Regions from separate parts of the Homo sapiens genome. Here region 1 is linked to region 2. Evidence: promoter capture Hi-C in human tissues and cell types (Jung and others, 2019). All regions are on one chromosome and are shown on one strand. Each heading gives the region's core, a stretch centred on a gene start or on the middle of the fragment in contact. The rest is flanking DNA. Distances are from core to core; before and after follow the strand shown.

Region 1 (6,543 bases), core at 2,612-5,111, 1.3 Mb before region 2:
ACCATAAATAAGAAAGTGGTGAGGAAAGGTTAAAAGTAAATAAATACATAGAAGGTGAAATAATACCTAGCAAAGAGCAACAATTGGGTGAAGTGATCATGTTATTATCTAAGAACATGATCTTAAAATTAGAGGCATTAAGAGGGGAAAAATATATCATTAGAAAAATAATTTATGAAGATGTTATGGCAGTCAGAGCTGTAACTACACCAAATAACAAAGAGTTAAAAGTATTTAGTTTGAAAAGGCAAATGAAACTAAGTAAAATCAGAATAAAAATTTGATTTTGATGTAACTTTTTTGAATTATATAGGTCTATTACACAAAAATATGGAAAAACAGAGTGATTAAATAACAATGAACCTGTTATATACATCCTAAAAATAGAGAATAAAAACATACTTTATGGAATGTCCTTGAAATATTTCCAAAAACTAATTTAGTAGTTGGCCACACACACACAAAAAGAACCTGACTAAATTTAAAATGTAAGGGCTTTGCAAGCTATATCCTCTGTTCACAAGACAAAATTGGGAGCGAAAGAAAATATTTTTTAAAAGTCCTTAACTTCATAATAATTAAACAACATGAACCTAATAGTGCTTGAGTTAAAGATAATGACAAACCTGTCATAAACTTAAATAACTTACTAAAAAACAAAGAATAAAAAATAAAAAGGAGGGGACAAGATGGCTGACTAGAAGCAGCTGCTGTTGGTGGCTCCCACCGAGAAGAATGCAAATGGTGAATGGATCCTGCACCTTCAGCTGAAGTATCGGGGTTCTCTTATTGAGAATTACTAGGCAGTTGGCACAACCTACAGAGAGTGAGGAAAAGAAGTATAGAACAATGGCCCACCTGGGAGCCGCATAGGGCAAGGGGAGCATCCACCCCCAGCCAAGGGAAGCAGTGAGTGATAGTGCTATCCCACCAGGAAACCTCACTGTTTCCACAGATCTGTGCATCCCATGGATCAGGAGATACCCTTATGAGCCCATGCTTGGGGTCCAAGCATAGAGCTATAGAGACAGTCAGCAGCCACTTGTATTGCAGCCAGTGGCAGCAGGCTGGAGACTGCCTAAACTGATTGAGTTCTGGGGGAAGTGGTGGCGGTGATCACTGTGGCTCCAGTCTGCCATTTGCCCCTGCTAGTGCCAGGAGACTGGACAGTTTGAACTGGGAAGATTTTCCTATGGCGCAACACAGTGGCTGTGGCAGATCGTGGCCAAACTGCTTCTTTGGGTGGGACCATGATCCATTTCCCCTCACCGGGTAAAGCCACCCTGCAGGAATTTTAGCAACTCCACCCATGGGTTTATGGACAGAACTCTGATCTCCCTGGGACAGAGCCCCTGAGGGAAGGGCTGCTGTGGTCTCCACGGCTCAGTGGACTTAGTCTTTCCTGCCTGCTGGCTCTGAAGAGGCCAGGCAGTCCAGACAAGGGGGATTCCTCCCAACACAGTGCACCGACACCTCCAAAAGGCAGCCAGTTCTTCATTAAGTGGGTTCCTGATCCTATCACTCCTGACTATGTGAGATCCCCCTGTAGGAGTCACCAGACACCTTATACAGGAGCATTCCCACCAGCATCAGGTCAGTATCCCTCTGGGATGGAGCTCCTTGAGTAAGGAGCAAGCAGCCATCTTTGCTGTTTTGCAGCCTCTGCTGGTAACACTAACAAGAGTGGGAGGGACACAGGTGAATAGGGTCTGGAGTGGACCCCCAGCAAACCGCAGCAGCCCTATGGAAGAGGGGCCTGATAAAGGAAAACAAACAAACCAAAAGCAAAGCAACAACAATATCAACAAAAAAGATCCTACAAAAATCCCATCCAAAGGTCAGCAGACTCAAAAATTGAAGGTAGATAAGCTCACAAAGAGGAGTAGAAAACAATGCAAGAAAACACCGAAAGCTCAAAAAGCCAGAGTGCCTCTTGTACTCCTAATGATTGTAACACATCTCCAGCAAGGGCACAGAACTGGGCTGAGAGTGAGATGGATAAACCGACAGAAAGAGGCTTCAGAAGGTGGGTAATAACGAATTTCACTGTGCTAAAGGACTATCTTCTAACCCAATGCAGAAAAGCTAAGAAACATAATAAAACATTACAAGAGCTGTTAACCAGAATAACCAGTTTAGAGAGGAATATAAATAACCCGAAGGAGCTAAAAAACACAACAGGATAGCTTAACAATGCAACCACAAGTATCAATAGTCAAATAGATCAAGAGGAGAAAAGAATCTCAGAGCTTGAAGACTATCTTGCTGAAATAAGACATGAAGGCAAATTAGAGAAAAACATAATAAAAAGGAATGAACAAAACATCCAAGATCTATGGGATTTTGTAAGAACACTGAACCTATGATTGATTGGGGTACCTGAAAGAGACAGGGAGAACAGAACCAAGTTGGAAAACATACTTCAGGACATCCAAGAGAATTTCTCCAACCTAGCAAGACAGGCTAACATTCAAATTTAGGGAATCCAGAGAACACCAGTAAAATACTCCATGAGAAGATAACCCCCACAAACATAATCATCAGATTCTCCAAGGTCAAAATGCAAGAAAAAATGCTAAGGGCAACCAGAGAGAGAGGTCACGTCACCCACAAAGTAAAACCCATCAGACTAACATCAGATCACTCAGTGGAAACCCTATAAGCCAGAAGATATTGACGGTCAATATTCAATATTATTAAAGAAAATAATTTCCAACCAAGAATTTCAGATCTGGCGAAACTATGTGTGAAACATTAGCGAAGGAGAAATAAAATCCTTTTCAGACAAGCAAATGCTGTGGGAGTTTATCACCACAAAGCCTGCCTTGCAAGAGCTCCTGAAAGAAGCACTAAATATGGAAAGGAAAAACCATTACTAGCCACTACAAAAACACACTGAAGTACACAGACCAACAACACTATGAAGCAACTACATTAACAAGTCTGCAAAACAACCAGTTTACATCATGATGATAGGATCAAATTAACACATAACAATATTAACCTTAAATGTAAATGGGCTAAATGCCCCAATTAAAAGACACAGACGGGCAAGCTGGATAGAGTCAAACTCATTGGTGTGCTGTATTCAAAAACCAATTTCATGTGCACACATAGGTTCAAAAAAAAGATGAAGGAAAGTTTACCAAGCAAATGGAAAGCAGAAAAAAAGCAGAGGTTGAAATCCTAGTTTCTTACAAAACAGACTTTAAACCAACAAAGATCAAAAAAAAGACAAAGAAGGGCACTACATAAGGATAAAAGGTTTAATTCATCAAGAAGAGCTAACTATCCTAGATATATATGCATCCAATACAGGAGTACCCAGATTCATAAAACAAATTCTTAGAGTCCTACAAAGAGACTTGGACTCTCACACAATAATAGTGAAAGACTTTATCACTCCACTGTCAATATTAGACAGATCATCAAGGCGGATAATTAGCAAAGATATTCAGAACTTGAATTCAGCTTTGGATCAAGTGGACGTGACAGATATCTACAGAACTCTCTAACGAAAAACAACAAAATATACATTTTTCTTGCCACCACATGGCACTTACTCTAAAATTGATCACATAACTGGAAGTAAAACACTCCTCAGCAAATTCGAAAGAACTGAAATCATAACAGTCTCTCAGACCACAGTGTAATCAAATTAGAACTCAAGATTAAGAAACTCACTCAAAACTACACAACTACATATAAATTGAACATCATGCTCCTGAATGACTCCTGGGTAAATAACAAAATTAAGACAGAAATCAAGAAGTTATTTGAAACTAGTGAGAACAAAGAGACAAAGTATCAGAACCTCTGGGATGCAGCTAAAGCAGTGTTAAGAGGGAAATTTATAGCACTAAATGCCCACATCAAAAAGCTAGAAAGACGTTAAATCTACATTCTAACATCACAACTTAAAGAACTAGAGAACTAAGAGCAAACAAACCTCAAGGGTAACAGAAGACAAGAAAGAACCAAGATGTGAGTGGAACTGAAGGAGATGGAGACACTAAAACACTTCAAAAAAATCAATGAATCCGTTTTTATGAAAAAATTAATAAAATAGACCATTAGCTAGACTATTAAAGAAGAAAAGAGAGAAGAATCAAATGGATACAATAAAAAATAATAAAGACCATATCACCACTAACCCCACAGAATTAGAAACAACCATCAGAGAATAATATAAACACCTCTATGCAAATAGAGTAGAAAATCTAGAAGAAATGGATAAATTCCTGGACAGGTACACTCTTCCAAGATTGAACCAGGAAGAACCTGAATCCCTGAATAGACAAGTAACAAGTACTGAAATTGTGGTAGTAATAAATAGCCTACCAACCAAAAAAAACAAAAACAAAAACACAGGACCAGATAAATTTAGAGCTGAATTCTACTGAATATACAAAGAAGAGCTTGTACCATTTTTTTCTGAAATTATTCCAAACAATTGAAAAGGGGGGACTCCTCCCTAACTCATTCTATGAGGTCAGCATCATCCTAATACCAAAACTTGGCAGAGATAAGAGAAAAAAAAAACAAAAACTTTAGGCCAATATCCCTGATGAACATAAATGCAAAATTCCTCAATAAAATACTGGCAAGCCAAATCCAGCAGCACATCAGAAAGCTTATACACCACAGTCAAGTAATCTTAATCCCCAGGATGCAAGGCTTGTTCAACATATTCAAATCAATAAATGTAATTCATCACATAAACAAAATTAAACACAAAAACCACACATGATTATCTCGATAGACGCAGAAAAGCCTTTAGATAAAATTCCACATTCGTTCATGTTAAAAACTCTCAATAAAGTAGGTACTAAAGGAACATACCTCAAAATAATTAGAGCCATTTATGATAAATTCACAGCCAATATCATACTAAATGGGTAAAAGCTGGAATTACTCCCCATAAAAACTGGCACAAGACAAGAATGCTCTCCCACCACTCCTATTCAACATAGTATTTGAAGTTCTGGCCAAGGCAATCAGCCAAGAGAAAGAAATAAAGGGTATTCAAATAGGAAGAGAGGAAGTCAAATTTTCCCTCTTTGCAAATGACATGAACCTATTTCTAGAAAACTCCATCAACTCAGCACAATAGCTTCCTAAGCTGATAAGCAACTTCAGCAAAATCTCAGGATACAAAATCAATGTTCAAAAATCACAAGCATCCCTATAAACCAACAACTGACAAGCACAGAGCCAAATAATGAGTGAACTCTTATTCACAATTGCTTAAAATATGTAAAATAAAATAGCTAGGAATACAGCTAACAGGGGAAGTGAAGGACCTCTTCACAGAGAACTATAAACCACTGCTCAAGGAAATGAGACATGACACAAACAAATGGAAAAACATTCCTTGCTCAAGGATAGGAAGAATCAATATCATGAAAATGGCCATACCGCTCAAAGTAATTTATAAATTTAATGCTATTCTCATTAAACTACCATTGACATTCTTCACATAATAAGAAAATTAAATCTATTTTTAGATTCAGAGTGAAGCAAAGAAGAGCCCATATTCCCAAGAGAATCTTAAGCAAAAAAACAAAGCTGAAAGCATCACACTACCTAATTTCTAACTATACTACAATGCTACAGTAACCAAACAGCACGGCACTGGTAGAAAAATAGACACATAGACAAATGTGACAGAATAGGGAACTCAGAAGTAATTCTGCACATCTACAACCATCTGATCCTTGACAAACCTGACAAAAATAAGCAATGGGGAAAGATTCCCTATTTAATAAATGGTGCTGGGAGAACTTGTTAGCCATATGCAGAAAATTGAAACTCGACCTGTTTTTTACACATTATATGAAAAATAACTCAAGATAAATTAAAGACTCAAATGTGAAACCTAAAACTATAAAAGCTGTAGAAGAAAATCTAGGCAATACCATTCAGGACATAGGCATGGGCAAAGATTTCATGATTAAAACATCAAAAGCGATTTCAACAAAAGCAAAAGTTAACAAATGAGATCTACTTAAACTAAGGAGCTTCAGCACATCAAATGAAACTACCATCAGAGGGAACAGACAACCTCCAGAATAGGAGAAAATTTTTGCAATCTATCCATCAGACAAAAGTTTAATATCCAGAATCTACAAGGAACCTTAACAAATTTACAAGAAAAAAGTAACCCCATTAAAAAGTGGGCAAAGCCATGAACAGATATTTCTCAAAAGAAGACATCTGTGCAGCTAACAAAGAAATGAAAACAAGCTCAACATCACTGGTCATTAGAGAAATGCAAATCAAAACCACAATGCGATACCATATCACACCGGTCAGAATGATGATTATTAAAAAAAAAAAAAACAAGAAACAACAGGTGCTGGAGAGGCTGTGGAGAAATAAGAACGATTTTACACTGTGGTGAGAATGTGAATTAGTTCAACCATTGTGAAAGACAGTGTGGTGATTCCTCAAATACCTAGAACCAGAAATACCATTTGACCAAGCAATCCCATTACTGGGTATATACCCAAAGGAATATAAATGATTCTATTATAAAGATAT
Region 2 (6,509 bases), core at 3,031-5,530:
GCTCAGGAAGAGCTGCTGAATGAAATGACCGAGTGTATCACAAATGTGCAAACTCCTGAAAGTTATAAACATTATCGTAGTTCCTTGTTTCTTCCTGTTTCACTGCATATTCTGTGCAAAGGAATTAAATGTACAGTGAATAGAAGGGAAGGGGATTAATCCAGAAGTCTTTTAATTCTAGAGAGCTTTCTCATATTTTGATTTCAAAGCAGAATCCTTATCCCTTTAGCTTTATTACTGTTGAGGCTTGTCCTTGGTCTGCCACAGCATATCATTAGCAATGAAGGCCCCAAAATTTCTATCTACTGTTGAAGTTACTACTTGGGAAAGAAAAAACAAAAACAAAAACAAAAAAAAACTCCTGCTGAACAATAGGGACATCTGCTGGCTAAAATGACAAGCTTCTATTCTTAAAATACTGCATCTAGATGCACAAGACTTGGGCAATAAGGTTTAGAGTAACACCAAATATGTGATGTGTTAAAATAACTTCTTTCCACTTGAAAAATAGGTAACATGTGTTTGTTTTAGTCCAGAATTGTCCAAGTAGCAACACTATCTGGAAAAATACTGTGTGATCGCCAGTAGTCAGCTGTTCTTGCCAAAGAATAGAAATGGCTAGCTTCCAAGTCTTCTGGCTTAAGATAATTATCTTTAATATCAACAAACATTTAAATGTCTGCTAAGTTAAGGTATTGTGCCATATATTAGCAAATCAAAGCTCATGGCAAAGGGGTAAGATGGCCCATTTCTGCTATGTCTGGGCATGCACTGAGCTCTAGTCTCAGAGGAATAGGAATACTATTCAGTCTTAAAAAAGAAGAAAATTCTGCAATATGCAACAACATGGATGAACCTTGAGGACATTATACTAAGTGAAATAAACCAGTCACAGAAATACAAATACTACATGATTTCACTTATGTTAAGTATCTAAAATAGACGAATTTTTAGAATCAGAGTGGAATGGTGGTTTACCAGGGGCTGGGGAGAGGGGATGGGGAGTTAGTAATCAGCGGGCATAAAGTTTCAAGTAAGATGAATAAGCTCTAGAGATCTGCTGTACAACATTGTACCCATAGTCAATGATAATGTTTTATATACTTAAAATTTTATTGAGGGCAGATGTCATGTTGTGTTCTTACCACAATAAAGTTTTTTGAGAAATTCAGCTAACATTTGCAAGGGACAGCCTATCACCTGGCAGTGCTCTGCTTTCACCATTTTATAAACATTTTACAAGCCAGTTGCTTTCTGCAAATATGCTTTCATGCACTAGCTTGACAAATGCTTTCCCACCTTGCACCCCCTACTATGCTTCTTTATTCTTACCTTTCTGCTTAAGTATCTTCTCAGAAAGGCCTACTCTGAACTCTCTATGTAAAAGTTCACTTTCAGAGCACCCAAGTTGTATCTTTCTCAGAACTTACAAAACATGGCAATTATTGCTTAGTTAACTAATACATTGTCCCTCTCTCTTCCATGCTAGATTATAAAGGAACAGGTCTTTGAGTCTGGGTCTGGATATTATCCTGTTTTAGTGAAGTATCTGAACTGTTTTGTTTTGCACACCAAAATTACAAAGACAGAACAAAAATTTTTATCCTTATTGGCTAGGAGTATTGGACGCCTTAGCTCTCCATTCCCTTGATAAGGAAACACTTTTCTGGCTAATATTCTATCAATAGGTCTCAACAAAGATTTACCACAAAAGAAGAAAAAAGTGAAGTGGATATAGAGAGGTTGTCACCAGGCTGAGGTATTAAAAGGATTGCAGAGATGAGACACATAGGCAAAATGCAAGGCGGGAAAAGGATTGTAAGATGGAGTGTCATAAGGCCCAGAGGGAAGCCTACAGGAAGAATCTGAGACAGGAGACCACCTGGTAAAGCCTGGTGTGTGGGCATAACTGGGACAGTTTATTCATTCCTCCATTAGCACAGCAATCTCCATCAGCTGGAAGGCCCTACAGTGTATACCCATCAGCTATATTAACAGGACTCAGAGCCTGTGTAGAAAGAAAATTACTCAGTAATTGTAATTTTCTTTTACTTTGAACAAAAGCTTATAAACATCTTTTTTTTTTCTGAATTAGCAAAAGATGATCATGAAACAACAGAACCTGCTTCTCAGTATTTGAAATACTTTATATTAATATATCAACCTGTCATAAAAGGCAATTTCATCATCAATCACTGATGAGGTTCACAAAAGTGTTATAGACACCTGGAGTCCAACAAAGTCAATTTTAACTAGCAAATGCAGTAAATACCATAGCTAAGCTATAAATACTTTAATAATTATTGTTTAGGATAGAAATACTTCTAATGATTTTTCTACAAAACATTTAATTCCTAAATAGGTAAATCCTTGGATAATATTTAAAACCTCATCCATTCCCTAGGTACACATTGACTAAATAATGAGGTACGGATAACATAGAAGTATAACTGCAGAAAATTGCTCTAGGAATCAAGTTGTGTTATGGATAGTCTTTACATTGATTATTCAAGCTAAAGGGATAGAGACGTTATTATATTTTTTTAAATTATGCATTAAGCTAATATTAAAATACATTTGTCATCCCCAAATAAATACCAATTGACTTGGGAAAAGGTAGTTATAAAAGAAACTCAACCAGAAAGGGAGAATTTAGTTATGAGGATGCACTTGACTTTTTGCGGGGAGTTAGCAGCGTGCAGGCTGACCTAAAATTTAGCAGAGGAGAATGGATAGCCCGACTATAATTTATATATCACTATTTTGTGCCTTAGCAAAAATAATCCTATATGGTTATGTCTTATGAAAAATATGGCTCATTAGGAACCACCTTATCAATGTTAATGTCAACAATTTTGCATATGTAATTATTATTTTATTAGAACTGCTCTTTGAGTAGTTGTATTGCTTTCCTGGCTTTAAGGTTTATTAGTTACCATTTTTAATGCTTAATACACGTCAGATTCCATGCAAACTACGCTGTCTACAATATTCTGGAAGGTACATCTTATTACTCCTAAAGTAAACAAAGCTAAAAGAGGTGAAGTGCCATATCCACTACTAAGAAATGGAGCCAAGATTCACACTCAGGTCTGACTGCCTGAGTCCATACCACGATACTATTCTGCCTCATAGTTTTGCTTACATAAACATTATTATGTACTTATTAAAAAATGGAATGATACACGGCTTAACTCCAACAGAATGCAGAGTGCCACAAATTAGTAATAAAGTTATCAACACAAGAAAATGCTGCTTCTGAGATTTATTTTTGAAAATTAGTCAAACATGTCGATCCTCCAGTAAAGCAAAGCATTTGTAAACTGGTTGTAATCATTTGTTTTCGTTATGAAAGTACTGCCAAAGTGTATTTTGTGAACTGCAACCGGGTAGTTCAGAACACAGGCTTTGGAGCTGAGGCTTCAATTCTAATTCCACCGCCAACTTGGGAGCCCTTGGACACATTCCTTCACTTCTCTTTGGTTCCTGTGTAAAATGGGATTCATTTGTAATAATTGTAGCGATGCACTTAGAACTTATGAACATTAAATGAGTTTAATATACGTAAAACATTTACCTGTCACATACGCACTCAAAGAATGCTGGCTCACATTACAGAACCCAAAGGCTTATTTATCCTTTTCGTTTATAAGGGTATTAAAACGCGTTTTCTATTTAGGATGGGTTTATACGGCTGCAACCCAAGGAGCATCTGTACTTTTAAGAGGAACTGGGCACAGCAAAACAGCATCTTCCTAGTCTAACAGTGAGACTACATTCACAGAGGACACATTTCATCAAGAACGACTTAACACGCCCAGATATCTCATATTATGCCCCTGCGGTAAGGCAAATCAAGTATGAAGACACACACTCCCTGTTTTCTTCAGCACTGAGATCACTGGTTCCCTCCGTTCCACACCGCGGCTCCCTCGGCTCGGAGCCACAGGGAACTATGAAAATCGGCACGCGAGGCCTAAGTGTCCCCAGAACCAGAGGAACCACAGTTGCGTCATAGCAGAAGGACCTCTTTTACAGCATCAGCAGTGGGATAGTCAGTGCCGAGTTTTCCTGGCAGGACAGCCGACAACCACCGCCACAGACCAGTACAAACATTCCAACCCAGGACCTTTTTTCGCGCGCCGACACAGCCGGAAGTGACGCGTACAGCCAGCACGCTGGGCCGCCAGCGGGACAGACGAGCGGGAGGGGCAGCGTGCGGGGAGCTGGGGGCGGGGCGCGGCCGCAGCTCCGTTTCCGGTGGCTCGTCGCGCTCGCTCACTCCAGCTGCAGCCACTCTCGCCCGTGGCTGCTTCCTCCATCCTGGTATTTTTTGGAGCTTCCATCCTGGTTCTTCCAAAGTGCCCGGACCCAAAACAGGAAGTAAGTGCGATGGAACCTTCAGGTTCCAACCGCCGCCAGGGCCGCTCCGCCCAGTGGAGCCTGTCCGGCCCCCTTGCTGCCCGCTAGCTCCCGCCGGCTGGCGCAAGCTGTCGGCGCCGGGGCACTGCGGGCGGGGTCGGAGCCTGGCCTTCCTGACGTTGCAGCTGCCGTCCCCGCACGTTCCGGCCAGGGCCTCCCTCTTAGGGCCGGGCGGTGCCCGTGGCTCAGGCTGCAGAGTAGGGAAGCGAGCGGCTGCCGAGGCACAGCGGCGATCCGGCGGGGGCGGAAAATGGCGGCGGCTTCGGAGGAGCTAAATGGCGCCGGGACCCCTGGGGGGTGGGGTGGGCCGGGAGGTTGAGTAGAGAACTGGGCCAGAAGGAGTGGAGACAGTAAGGAAGCCCTACTTGTTTTCTCGTGGTGTTCTATTTTTAGTTTTTATTTTTGTTACGTTTTCGGTTTTGTTTTATGGTCCAGCGTAGGAGAGGTAGGCTTGGGTGGGGTCGAGAGAGTGGGGGTGGGTCTCGACCCAACTTCCCCCCCTTTGCTTTTTTGTTCTTTTCCCTCGTTTGCGCTTTAGATTCTTCTGTAATTTTGCGGGGGTTCAGCCTTGCTCGGCGATTCACGGCCCAGACATAGAGAATCGGGATAGCTGGCCGAACCGTCTCTCTCAGTCTGACTCTCTTTAAAGAAGGGATGTGGGCTGGGGCGCGGGGACAGTCCTGGTGGAGCACGGAAAATGCGGCTGTAAAGTTGTAATTACCCTATTGTGCCGAGTTCCGAGAAAGTTCTTAAAATTGTTAAGTCCACTTTGTTCTCTAAAATGTACTTCGCTTTGAGAATTTCTTCAGGGAGGTATGTAGAATGTTTTACCACAATCTCCAGAGCAGATTTGAGAGTAGAAGTGGCCAAGTGCCCTTTTGTGCAATTGAATGATAGAGCATATGTCTTTATATAAAATACTCGGTGTAGATAAGGAAAAGGATAATAGTATACAGTATGAGTCAGGACTCCTCCCTTTCTCTCATTGAATTTGTGTAGTTGCTTTTTTCGCAACTCATTCATCTTTGTGTACCTCTTTTTAATGTACATGGATTTGATTATGTGTGCCTCCTTTCTGACAGTCGAGGCTGCATGTTGGGACGTCCTACAAAATGCATATTCTGTGGAATTATTTTTTAATATGACATGTCTTAAGCTTAAAGTGACGCCATTTGGAAAATTTTAAATTATACCTGTATTTTTAATTCGTGGGAGAAAACCATTTGTAGCTTTTAAGCTCCAAATACGAAAATATTCTTCCACTATGTTGAAAGTATTGCAAAATCTGTTTTTTTCAGTTAAGGGTTTTCATGTTTTTTCATTACTTCAAATTTCTTTAAGCTGGTTTTGAAATTATATTTCAAATAGCTTTCTGAGGATTACTGTCTTTTAATAACTTGAATAATTTGCCATCACTTTAACATTTAAAGAATGACTATGGCGATACACCAAAATCTTATCTTTTTGCTCTTATGGTGTACTTAGAGACAGGATTTCATGTATTTGGTTAGGATTTAGAAATTCTGTTAAGATTTAGAGAAAAAAGGTTAAAGCTACATTCCTTAACGTTACAAAAATTGTCATGCTGAGAGAATCCAATTTGGTGTGAGAATAATTTTTTTCTTCCATACAGAAAGCACAAAAACCAGCCTGATTGTATCTGGAAAAAACCATTATGTTACAGGTGTGAAAAATACATTTCATGATTGTGGTGATTTTTATCTCATTTTAACTCTCGATACTAGGTGCTTCTGTATGCCACCAAACAAGCTAATTTTTTTTCTTACTATTTTAGTTGATAGGCTCACCCCAAAATATGCTTTTGGGGACTGATTTAGCACCTGCATATTCTGCGTGAATCTCTTTAATTGGTTGCAGTTGAGCTAATGGTGGAGCCAAAATGCTATTGCCCTGTCTTCATCAACATTTAATCAGTAAGTACTGGGCATTGCATCTTTCTTAGAACTTTAAGTTCATACGTTGCAGTTATATGAATACATTATTTTATGTAAACATTTTTCTGAGTGTTCAGGTTTTAGAAGTATTTTGAGGGGAAGAAATCAAAGTTTGGGCGTTATGACTTGAGC

The links. Contacts are between HindIII fragments. The study calls those that stand out against the background at their distance.
Region 1: a fragment that was not itself captured here is called in contact with the fragment with the promoter of DMTF1 in region 2 in 1 of the 25 tissues and cell types used here (dorsolateral prefrontal cortex).

Annotation. Positions count from the first base shown.
Region 1 is chr7:85,865,593-85,872,135 of GRCh38, forward strand. No RefSeq gene overlaps it. Among named protein-coding and RNA genes, the nearest start is that of LINC00972, 450 kb to the left of the region's middle. The HindIII fragment of the contact is 8,908 bases long and covers 1-6,543 here.
Region 2 is chr7:87,148,173-87,154,681 of GRCh38, forward strand. It overlaps DMTF1 (cyclin D binding myb like transcription factor 1), which reads left to right and starts at 4,281. Exons shown (of 18, transcript NM_001142327.2): 1 at 4,281-4,383. DMTF1-AS1 (DMTF1 antisense RNA 1) reads right to left here and starts at 4,321. Exons shown (of 2, transcript NR_136253.1): 1 at 4,130-4,321; 2 at 3,251-3,486. RefSeq lists enhancers at 3,351-3,914, 3,830-4,069, 3,915-4,476. The HindIII fragment of the contact is 5,091 bases long and covers 1,233-6,323 here.